2 separate regions of the Homo sapiens genome follow, and region 1 is linked to region 2. Evidence: promoter capture Hi-C in 16 types of primary human blood cells and fetal thymus (Javierre and others, 2016). All regions are on one chromosome and are shown on one strand. Each heading gives the region's core, a stretch centred on a gene start or on the middle of the fragment in contact. The rest is flanking DNA. Distances are from core to core; before and after follow the strand shown. Region 1 has its middle 59 kb from the start of CASR. Region 2 holds the start of SLC15A2 (solute carrier family 15 member 2).

Region 1 (5,856 bases), core at 2,573-5,072, 230 kb before region 2:
TGGTATACCTGCCTCCAATTTGCACGGCCCTCCCTGATACAAACCATCCTCTACATGGCTGCTCCTCAAGACAAGGGCTTTCCGAAATATTAACTGGGAGCCTTTGGTCCTTTTTATTCTCAGCTTAACTGCTTAGAATTTCATGTTATATTTAGTAAGGAATGAGCTTCCTGTTATCTTCACAAAGAAGTAGATATTATTGATTGTCTGGAAATAATCTTGACAAAGGAAAGATAAAGGTCCCAGGAACTTGGCTTTGGTCTCAGAAGGTAAAGTTGGAAAAGTTCCACGTGCATAAGGTGAGAGCATGAATCATCTCAGTCCCTAAGTTGAGATCCTGAGAGTGGGACTTCATGTGAGGCTGATGCAGGAGGAGTTGTAGGAGCATTTCTGGCTTTCAGCAGGGTGTTTGGAAGACTTCTGGGCTGAGTGTTATATGAAAGAATCCAAGCCCACGCCTGTTAATCCATGTACAGCCCAACCTACAACTCCTCCTACATCAGCCTCACATGAAGTTGCCATCCTCCCACTACTAATTCTCACTCACCATCCTCAAGCCCACCCTGTTGAAACAAGCTACCCAATTGCTTGTTTGTTGTGGCTCTTTTATTTTTCTTTCCTTTCCTTTTTTAAACAGTATAATCCTTATCTTTTGGATTGCCCTTGATCCTGTAAGGTAGGTAGATATTATTATCCCTATTTTACAAATAAGAAAACTGAAAATCAGAGATTAAGTAATTAGCCCAAGGTCACACAGTCAAGTGTAGTGGTGTCAGGTCTATCTGACCTAAAGTCCATGATCTTCCTTCATTATGCTCTGTTGACACCCATTTTCCAGCTCTTCCAGTTAACAAGAAGTTTAGAGGGGCACAGTGGGGTGGGAAGAACCCTGGACTGAAAAATCAGGAACCTGAGTTCTGGTCATGGCTCTTTTTGGTGTTGGGTGAATTACTCCCTTCTCTGCCCTCATGTACCACATACAATGGGAAGGTTCTCCTCATTGCTTTCTGAATTTCTTCCATTTCTAGTAGACTGTTAGGACAATTTAGTGACTTTTACTTTGTACTTGGTATATTTAGGAAACTGAGTTCACAATGTTTAATCTGAATCAATGTTATAATCAGGTCACGGGAAGAGAAACCACTTTGCCACATGCTACAAGTACGATAGGGCTATCGTACTAAAAACACATGGAGTAAGTACATTTATGCATACTGAATAAGGAATGCAGAGGTTCCATCACTACTCACACCCACCCCTCTTCTCTCACTTGGCTCCCAAAATACTAGCAGCTATACCTCTACCTTCCAAGCAAGATACTGAAAAATTACCAGCTCAAAAAAGAAGATCTAAAAATGATTTCCTAAAAATGTCTTGCTCCAGATCCCTCTACCATGAAGCTAAAGTTGACAAACCCATCCATAAACTCAGATCCTCCAAACTTTTAGTTTTTCACTCTTAATTGTGAACAGACAGTCAAGTATCATCAGACAGCTGGGAATCCTTTAACATGGATGATATAGATCAAAGCAAACAAACAGGAAGAAATAACTTGGAATATAAAACTTTAAAAACAAACAACCTAATCGTTAATATCCTAAGAGAGTTAAGAGATAATATTTCAACCATTAGGAACAGGCTCCTTGCAAAAAGAAACATTCAGAAAACAAAAAGGAGCTCTGAAAATAAAACATGATAGCAGAAGTAAAAAGTACAACAGAAAGGCTGGAAGATAAACTTGAGAAAATCTCTAGGAAATGGAACAAAAAACAAAATATGGGCAACAGGAGAGAAAATAACAAAATTGGAGGATCAGTCTAGGAGATTCAACATTCAGGAATCTGACATTCTAAAATGAGAGACTAGTGAAATAGAGGGGAAAAATAATCAATGAAATAATTCAGGAAAATTTCCCTGGAGGAAAGGACATGAGTTTCCAGAAGAAAAGTCCATCTGAGTGTTAATCACAATGGACAAACAGGCATTTCATGACAAAATCTTAGAACACTGAGCAGATTCTAAAAGCTTTCATGTAAAAAGATAAGGAGTCAGAATATTTGTAGATTTCTCAAGAGCAACACTGGAAACTATGGACAATGAAAATAATTTCCAACCCAAATTTTTATACCAAGCAAAATTATTAATAGTTAAGCAGGAAAGTAAGATAAAGACATTTTCAGATACATAAAATTTCATTAAATATATTTCCCACAGATCCTTTCTCAGAAAGCTGCTGGATCAAGCTACTGAAGGATATGCACCACCAAAGTGAGGGGGTAAATCAAGAAAGACAACTATATGGACATAGGAATTGGGAGATCCCTTCAGGGTAACTGTTGCTCACCAGACCTAGGGTGTAACTTGTTCAGATTGGAGCAGGTTTTAAACTTTGTGACTAAGGACAGTGAAGGATTCTATATCTGTAAGTATCTTTTCTTCTGAAGTGAACAGGTAGACATAATAAAATCCAATGGAATCTCACTTTTATTATAAGATCCACAATGATGCTAGAATATTGGTGAGAATGAAAACTTATACATACAGATGTATGTTTTTAATATGAAGGATTACACTGAAGACTGATGTCAATCATCCTAGCAAGAGTATTCTGATTTCTTTAGACTGTAGTGTAAAGTAAAACCAAATCTGCCTGAGTAAGGGGAATATGTGTATGTGTGTGTACACACACTTAAAAATAGGCATACTGTGACTACGAATGGATACCCAGGAAGCTGGAGATCAGAGTTGTGTGGCTAGGGAAAGGGAATGTGAGGGAGACCTTTTCACTATTTACCTTCTTGTTTCTCTTGGTGTGTTGGACAGAATGAAGGGTAAGAGAGATAGGAGACTGGGATCAGTTGGGAGGTGACTGACATGTTTTTGGTATGAATAAAAAAGGTCCTGAATGAGAAAATAAGAGGTGGGTGTGAAAGTGGGAGGAATGCTTTCCTGGCCTAGTGATGACTGATAACAGAATGAGGCAGGAGCGAAGGGGTGAGCAGTGGGTGCTGAGGGAAAGGTTGAATGCAGTCATCAGAGATGACTCTTTGCTTTCAAGCCTGGGTTAATGTATTTGTTCCTTCTCACACTGCTAATAAAGACACACCCAAGACTGGTTAATTTATAAAGGAAGGAGGTTTAATTGACTCACAGTTCAGCAGGGCTGATGAGGCCTCAGGAAACTTAAATCATGGTGGAAGGGGAAGCAAACATATCCTCTTTCACAGGATGATAGGAAGGAGAAATGCCAAGCAAAAGGCAGAAAAGCCTCTTATAAAACCATCACATCTCATGAGAACTCACTCACTATCATGAGAACAGCAGCATGGGGGTAACTGCCCACATGATTCAATTACCTCCCACTGGGTCCCTCCCACAACACGTGGAGATTATGGGAACTACAATTCAAGATGAGATTTGGATGGGGACACAGCCAAACCATATAATTTCACCCCTGGCTCCTCCCAAATCTCATGTCCTTACATTTCAAAATACAATCATGCCTTTCCAACAGTCCCCCAAAGTCTTAACTCATTCCAGCATTAACCCAAAAGTCCCAAGTCCAAAGTCTCATCTGAGACAAGGCAAGCACCTTCCGCCTATGAGCCTGTAAAATCAAAAGAAAGTTAGTAACTTCCTAGATACAATGGGGGTACAGGCATTGGGTAAATATACCCATTCCAAATGGGAGAAATTTGCCAAAACAAAGGGGCTACAGGCCCCATGCAAGTCCAAAATCCAGTGGGGCAGTGAAATCTTAAAGCTCCAAAATGATCTCTCTTTTGTCTCCATCTCTCACATCCAGGTCATGCTGATGCAAGAGGTGGGCTCCCATGGCCTTGGGCAGCTTGGCCTCTTTGGCTTTGCAGGGTACAGCCCCCTCCTGACTTCCTTCATGGGTTGGCATTGAGTGTCGGTGACTTTTCCAGGCGCATGGTTGGTGGACCTACAATTCTGGGGTCTGGATGATGGTGGCCCTCTTCTCATAGCTCCACTAGGCAGTGCCCCAGTGGGGACTCTGTGTGGGGGCTCCAACCCCACATTTCCCTGCTGCACTGCCCTTGCAGAGGTTCTCCATGAGAGCTCTACCCCTGCAGCAAACTTCTGCCTGGACATCCAGGTGTTCCCATACATCCTCTGAAATCTACGGGGATGTTCCCAAACCTCAATTCTTGACTTGTGTGCACCTGCAGGTTCACTGTGCTGAAGCTGCCAAGCCTTGGGGCTTGCACCCTCTGAAGCCATGACCTGAACTGTATCTTGGCCTCTTTTAGCCATGGCTGGGATGCAGGGCACCAAGTCCCAAAACTGCACAAAGCAGCAAGGCCTCGGGCCTGGCCAGGAAACCGTTTTTCCCTCCTAGGCCTCTTGGCCTGTGATGAGAAGGGCTGCTGTAAAGAGTTCTGACATGGCCTGGAGACATTTTCCCATTATCTTGGCAATTAACATTTGGCTCCTTGTTACTTATGCAAATTTCTGCAGCTGGCTTGAATTTCTCCTCAGAAAATGGGTTTTCTTTTCTATCACATTGTCAGGCTGCAAATTTTCCAAACTTTTAAACATAAGTTCCAATTCCAAACCATATTTTTGGGAATACATAAAACTGAATGCTTTTAACAGCACGAAAGTTACATCTTGAATGCTTTGCTGCTTAGAAATTTCTTCCACCAGATACCCTAAATCATCTCTCTCAAGTTCAAAGTCCCACAAATCTCTAGGGCAGGGGCAAAATGCCACCAGTGTCTTTGCTAAAACATAGCAAGAGTCACCTTTATTCCAGTTCCCAACAAGTTCCTCTTCTCTATCTGAGACCACCTCAGCCTGTATTTCATTGTCCATATTACTATCAGCATTTTGGTCAAAGCCATTCAACAAGGCTCTGGGAAGTTCCAAACTTTCCTACATCTTCCTGTCTTCTTCTGAGCCCTCCAAACTGTTCCAACCTCTGCCTGTTACAAAGCTCTGCCACTTACAAAGTTAACAATGTTGGGTAAATTACTCTGACTTATCTCTGTGTTTATATTTTCTCATCAGCATAATGGGCATAATATTCCATTACCTACGTCACAGGGTCATTGTGAGGATTAAATAGGATAATGAGTTTAAAGGTTTAGATGAGTGACGGGTATATGGTAAATGTGAAATAATGTTAGCTAGTACTATTCTGCCTAATGACCTCTTTCAACCTTCTTTTTCTTTCCCCTAGTCTTAGAATACAGCAGTTCAGAGAATTTAATATACAAAGGAGGGATGTTCTCACCAAAGGGCATGTTAATATTTCATTCAATCTTTAAACAGATATGTTTTGAGAGAACAAAAAAGAATTCTGAAAAGAATACATGATAGCAGAAATAAAAATACAACAGAAGTTAGAAGATAAAGTTGAGGGAATCTTTAAGAAATACAACAAAAGACAAAAAGATGGACAATAGAATAGACAACTATCTTAGTTGTCTGAGGATCCATTGGAGAGAAATTAAACACATTCCTGCCCTCACAGAGTCTAGGTAATTTTCTTTTTTCCAGAGTTTTCCTGGCTCCTCTCACATGCTGTATGTGTATATATGCATTTATTTTATAATCATGGTGTTTTCAAGGAATATTTTTACATTAAGCTTTTGTTTAATGTACATGTAAGTACATAATTAAAAAATTACACACTACAGGTTACAAACTCAAAAGTAAGCTTCCCTTCCTTATTCCAGATTTCTTAGTTGTCCTCAAAAACAACCATTCTTACTTGATTTTTTATGACTTATTACTGAGATAAACATATAGAAGTATACAAGCCTCCTTTCTCAAATAATGGTAGGGAAAAGGGAGGAGGAGAAGATACAGGATGCGTGAGAGGCTTCT
Region 2 (5,985 bases), core at 1,004-3,503:
GAGATTTATTGGAAGTCTTGGCCAAAGTAAAGGACCAATTTGGACCAAGGCAGAAAGAGTGGACTCGGGAAATAAGTGCATATAAAGAGACCAGGCTGTCACAAACATGGGGTGAGGGTGGGTGGAGGAGAGTAGGTAGGACTCTTGGACACAAAATTACCTTTCATTCCATAATAGGAAAAGCGCTCGCAGAATTCATTCACCACAATGAAGGCAATGCTCAGTGGATAGTTGGAGCCACAGATTGTCTATTCAACAAGAAGGCAATGATTCAAGCATGAGCTGTTTTTCCCTGTTTCAACAATTAGATTTCTTCAAAACTGAAAAATTCATTTATTTCAAATCATCTTGGTAGGTAATGGAGCAATGGTCTCTACTCTTCATGACACACCTATTAGGTAACACTAAAAGTGCTTATATTACTGATTTAGAAATAATAGAAGCTACTCTGAATATTATTTTGTTTCTTATTTATTTTACATGGACTTGCTCAAATATTCCTTGGACCTGCTCATCTTCCCACAACTACTAAATGAAAAGCCTAGGGCTCTGGGGCAGAAGAATGGTGATATTTACTTCCTAGGAACAGAATAAAGAGGTAGCCTATGGAATACCTGATATCCAAGCAGTGAGATTCAGATGTCAGTCTCTGCTTAGCCCCACTATGGGGACTCTTGTCCCCAGCTGTTCTGTTTGCCATGCTGGGAGGAATCCTGGCAATATGATAGCTTCTACTTCAGAGGCTGCTGGAGTCAGGCACAGAGCCCAACATGGAGGACAGAGATTCCTAAGGGTAAGCTAATTGATCACCTTGACTTTAGGCAGAGTTCTTAAATCCTGTAAAATTAAATGTCTACTCTTCCTACTAAAGAGATTCTATAACATTTTCATGATAATCCTACTGGACATTAAAAGAATTATGCTTTTCATGTAATATATCAGTCAGAATATAAGGAATGTTATGTTTTATTTTAATTCCCTATCTATTACAATAGACCAACTAACATGAGAAGAGACATAGAGGTATCTGTCCTCAGTACAGTCAAATCTTGTAAGATTTATATTGCCTCATTTCATGAGAAGTATATACATCTTTGCAAGTAGCCCTAAATTCTTTGGGACCAGAAGAGATATCATTAACTAAAAAAATAGGCAAAATAATAAAGTAATGTATTATTCTTTTAACCCTAGGGATATATATAAATGATCCTCCTAAATATTAATATATTTTAATGTTTTATAATAGCTTGTTTGAAACATACAATGAACTGGGCTTCTTACCTTTGCAGCTCACAGCTTGAGAATTATGCAATCTGGAGTTTAGCCGACACACTGTTAGCTAGTTAGGCAACACTGCCACTGGCTGTGTTAACATACTGATACTGGCATTGTCACTACACCTGTCTCAAAACCTCTGTTCTGTTATTCCAAAGAAATGAGAATAACATCACCTTTTGGCCCACTGTAAGAACTCAGTAAATTTTGGCTATCATTACTATATCCTCCCCACTTACAGAATTTTAGTGTAAGAATTGACTGAGATGATGAGTTTAGAAGTGCTTTAGCGAGTATATAAATGCAAAACATTACTATTCTCTGTTTCTCTGTCCTATCTCCCACAGTAAACTGGGAACACATAGTAACAGAAATTGGATCTATTCTGAAACTTCCATTGGTGTTCAGCAGAAGACTCTGCACACAGGGAGAACTAAGGGCAGAGTTTTTATATTGGTAAAGAAAGAACAATCACACACAGTTCTTCAGACAAGAATGCTTGCCAAGTTTCCCTGGACATTCGAATTGCTTTTTTCCCCCAGGGAAACAGAATATGCAATGAAATTCAGCAAGTCCCTGGATCCCAACTGAAGAACTTTGACTACCTCTTCCTGCTGCTTTGTCTTCTTATGTAAAGGAAGCTTCTGTTTAGATTTGGTTTCAGGTGAATTCTAAATCCAAGAGAGAAGCATTTTAATACCCTAATACAGCTCAGCTGGAAGCTCCAGAGCCCAAGGAAGAGAGCCAAAAGAGGGAGGCCATTCCTCTCAGAGGCAGGATTGAATCTAAGGACTCACCGGAGATGGCTTCTTTGGAGGGCTAGGTGGTCGAGGTGGTACCTCTTCAATGGAGACAGGTGAAAAAAGAGTTTCCTTGGACTCATTTTTCTGGAAAGGATTCATGGCTGGCTCCTTACTCTCTCTCTCTCCTCAAGCATTTGGCTTTAGTAGGCAGTTAGGACAGCTGCCAGCCTACTCTGAAAAGAAGGACTGGGAGGGGGAGCTGGTGGCTTCAGCAACTCAGTTTAACTCTGTGGGTGTCAGCTTCAATAGCTTCCTGATCCAGAGCAAAGCAGGAAGCTATAGTTAAAAAGAATGTGTAAAAGTACAGCACAGCAAAGTGAAAACATGCCAAAGACAGAATGAAACAATGCTAGAGAACTGATTAGAAAGTCTATGTTTAAGAAAGATTATCTTTGCAAAGGAGTAGAAGATAGTTAAGAACACAACACCTCGAGCACAGATTGAAAAACTGATTCCATGGTCAGGCGCGGTGGTTCACGCATATAATCCTAGCACTTTGGAAGGCCCAGGCAGGCGGATCGTTTTAGGTCAGCAGCCTGGCCCACATGGTGAAACCCCGTCTCTACTAAAAATACAAAAAAAAAATTAGCTGGGTGTGGTGGCGGGCGCCTATAATCCCAGCTACTCAGGAGGCTAAGGCAGAAGAATCACTTGAACCTGGGAGGCGGAGGTTGCGGTGAGCTGAGATTGCACCATTGCACTCCAGCCTGGGCAACAAGAGCGAAACTCCATTTCCAAAAAAAAAAAAAAAGAAAAACTGATTTCAGGGTAACAATAGCTGTAATTTATTGAACATCTACTATTGAAAGGTTAATATATATGAATTACATCTATGTTGTATATCTATAACATATATATTTATTCTAATTCATATTACTATCCCCATTTTATAGAAAGTAATGTTCCCAGAGGTTAAGAAATTTGTTCAAAGTACCTGTCCACTAAGTGGCAGATCTGGAATTTTCACTATGCCATGACAGCTGGGAAAAGTGGAGTTAGTGTCAGTCATTATTCAGGTATGGAGGTTACATAAATGGAATGTAGGAATGCAGAGGATTAAAATGCATTGGAGAAGGAAAGTCATCATAAAACTGAGTTTGGAAGATAAGAAAGATGGTGAGTTTTGGCTGGGTGCAGAGGCTTACGCCTGTAATCCCAACACTTTGGGAGGCCGAGGTGGGCTGATCACAGCTCAGGAGTTCAAGATTAGCCTGGCCAACATAGTGAAACCCCATCTCTACTAAAAATACAAAAATTAGCTGGGTGTGGTGGCACGCGCCTGTAGTCCCAGCTACTCAGGAGGCTGAGGCAGGAGAATCGTTTGAACCCAAGAGGCAGAGGTTGCAGTGAGCCGAGACCCCACCACTGCACTCCAGCCTGGGCGACGGAGCAAGACTTGAAAGAAAGAAAGAAAAGAAGGGAAAGAAAGGAAAGAAAGAAAGAAAAGAAGGGAAAGAAAGGAAAGAAAGAAAAGAAAAGAAAGGAAGGAAGGAAGGAGACTTTTGTTTTCAACATCATAAAAGTTCAGCTAGAAATAGCCTATAAGCAATTAAAGAGGTGGGGCTAAAGAAAATGAGAGAAAAGGATTGGTGATATACATTTGGGAACCATTGTTCTTCTTTGCTAAAGTCACTCCTTATATTTTCATTTTCTCACTTCAAGATTAATCTATTCTTTCATTTAATAAATAAAATTTAATTTGAGCAAAAATTGTGAACCAGTTACTTTCTAGGTACTGTTGTGAACACCATTTTCCTTAATTATACATTTAGTCCTTATCAGAAGAGGAACAAGAACAAACATCATAATGCTAGGTGCATTTTATGCTGTGTTATTTTTGTCAAGCCAAAGAAGTAAAAGGATAAGAAAAGAGCATGGTGCCCCTCTAGTTGTTTGTCAAAAGAAAAGGGAAAAGAAAGGCTAGAGAGCTATAAAAGAAATAAGAAAAATGAAGACTAAATCAACAAGGTCAGGCAACATCAGAATGAATTATTTTATTTGAAAATACAAGAGAGAAAACCTATAACTCTATCCCTCACAAAATTTTTACTTTAACTATTCAAATAATTTATTGACAAATAGGGCCAGGATAAACTGTCTTTTCCTCTCTAAACTTTAACTCAGACTTTGACCATATCTTCTCAGCTTCTATTACACCCCTCATTTCTACTGTCTCCCACCAACCTTTACCCAAAGAAGAGTCCAGCTTCATTTCTGACTGTGGCATTAATAATTAAGGTATAGTTATTCTTTCAGGAAGCACTGCCATTTCTGAATTGGTTTGGTTAATGACTTTGGCTGGAAAATAAATGGTCAGAAGTTACTAGTCAAGTTAACTAGCAGAGGCACAGATGCCTTGAAGATCCACTTATGTTGTGGCTTTCCTTGATCTGGCAGAGTAGATGGAATAGCACCTGTATGCAATGTACCAATTTATTTGTGCTCATAGGTATCCCAAATACTAAACTTTGGAGTATTGGCAGTGGTTTTCTGACACTCCTTTGTTTAGACAAAATTCTTCTTTTGATTATGGCAGTATAATGATAGTATTCACAGAATCGAATAATATCAGAGATGGAAGGAATCTTAATCTTGTCCTATGTGAGTGAAACTTCCCTGAGGATAAGAATCATTTTCCTTTGGAAATTCCAATTCAGTAGATCTCGGTAGGGATCTAAGAATCTTTGTTTTCAACGAGCACCTCTAGCAATTCTTACGCTAGGAATTTGGGAAACACTGGTCATAAATTCTCTCCTATTCTATTTCAGAGGAACTCAGAAGGGACAAAGCAAGGACTGGAACCCTAGGCTCCCAAGGCATAGTCTTGAGCCATTTATATAATATTAAGATGGCTCTTAAATCCTATTATTTTGCTAACATCAGATAGAAGGAGAAAGAGAAGAGATAAAAAGAAAGCACCTCCCAGACAGAAATGAGCACCAACTATTCTGAGACAAACAATAAAAGTGAAAGAATCTAAGTATCAGTGATGAGTAAAGAATATTTGTGTCCTTAGTGATTACAACATCAGAAAACATTTATTATGACATATGATAAAGTTTTAGTTATATATACACAAAAGTAGACTGCTGCTCTAAGTTAATAGAATCTAATATAGTCAGAGAGAAGAGGAAAATATGAAATTAAAAGGGAACATATATTTAACAAGTTCTCTAAATTAAAATACACAAAAATAAATTGTATCAAACATCAGTCACAAAGAAATAGAAAAGGGAAATCTAAGGAATACATTTATATATTTATTTATATAAATAGATTTAGGAATAAATCTAACAAAAGATCTTCTAGACCTCAATATTAAAAACTATAAAATTTTACTGAAAGAAATTGAAGAAGATCTAAATAAATGGAAACATACCATGCTTATGAATTGGAAGGCTCATATTGTAAAGATGTCAACATTTCTCAAAACATTCTACAGTTCTAAAACAAAATCCCAGCAGGTTTTGTGAGTATAGAAAATGACAAGATGACTTTTTAAAGTCAACTTGGAAGTGCAAAGAGCCAAGGATAGCAAAGTCAATCTTAAAGAATAATGGTGGAGGATTGTATTACCCAATCTAAGACCTATTTTAAAGATAGTTATTATATCAGAGTGGAATTGACACAGATAACATAGGGCAACCAATGAAACAACACAGCGTTCAGAAAGTGATTCACACACATAATGTATATAACAAAGATGATGCTGTAATACAGTGAAGGAAATGATGTTGATTTCAATAAATAAACACCATTTGAATATCCATACCCCCTAAATTATTTTGACCCTTATTTTACAACATACACAAAAATAATTTCTATATAGATTGCCTATCTAAATGTTAAAGTAAAAAAAAATGTCTTTAGAGGAAAACATAAGAGAACATCTTTATGATTGTGGAGT

Evidence for each region. The method cuts DNA at HindIII sites, captures the fragments that hold promoters and counts their contacts. A CHiCAGO score of 5 or more calls a contact.
Region 1: a fragment that was not itself captured here is called in contact with the fragment with the promoter of SLC15A2 in region 2 in 2 of 17 cell types (monocytes and total B cells); the score reaches 6.4 in monocytes.

What each region holds. Positions count from the first base shown.
Region 1 is chr3:122,121,252-122,127,107 of GRCh38, reverse strand. No RefSeq gene overlaps it. Among named protein-coding and RNA genes, the nearest start is that of CASR, 59 kb to the left of the region's middle. The HindIII fragment of the contact is 3,590 bases long and covers 2,028-5,617 here.
Region 2 is chr3:121,890,669-121,896,653 of GRCh38, reverse strand. It overlaps SLC15A2 (solute carrier family 15 member 2), which reads right to left and starts at 2,253. Exons shown (of 22, transcript NM_021082.4): 1 at 2,073-2,253; 2 at 161-248. The coding sequence starts at 2,177. RefSeq lists enhancers at 2,761-3,293, 3,294-3,827. The HindIII fragment of the contact is 13,918 bases long and covers 1,919-5,985 here.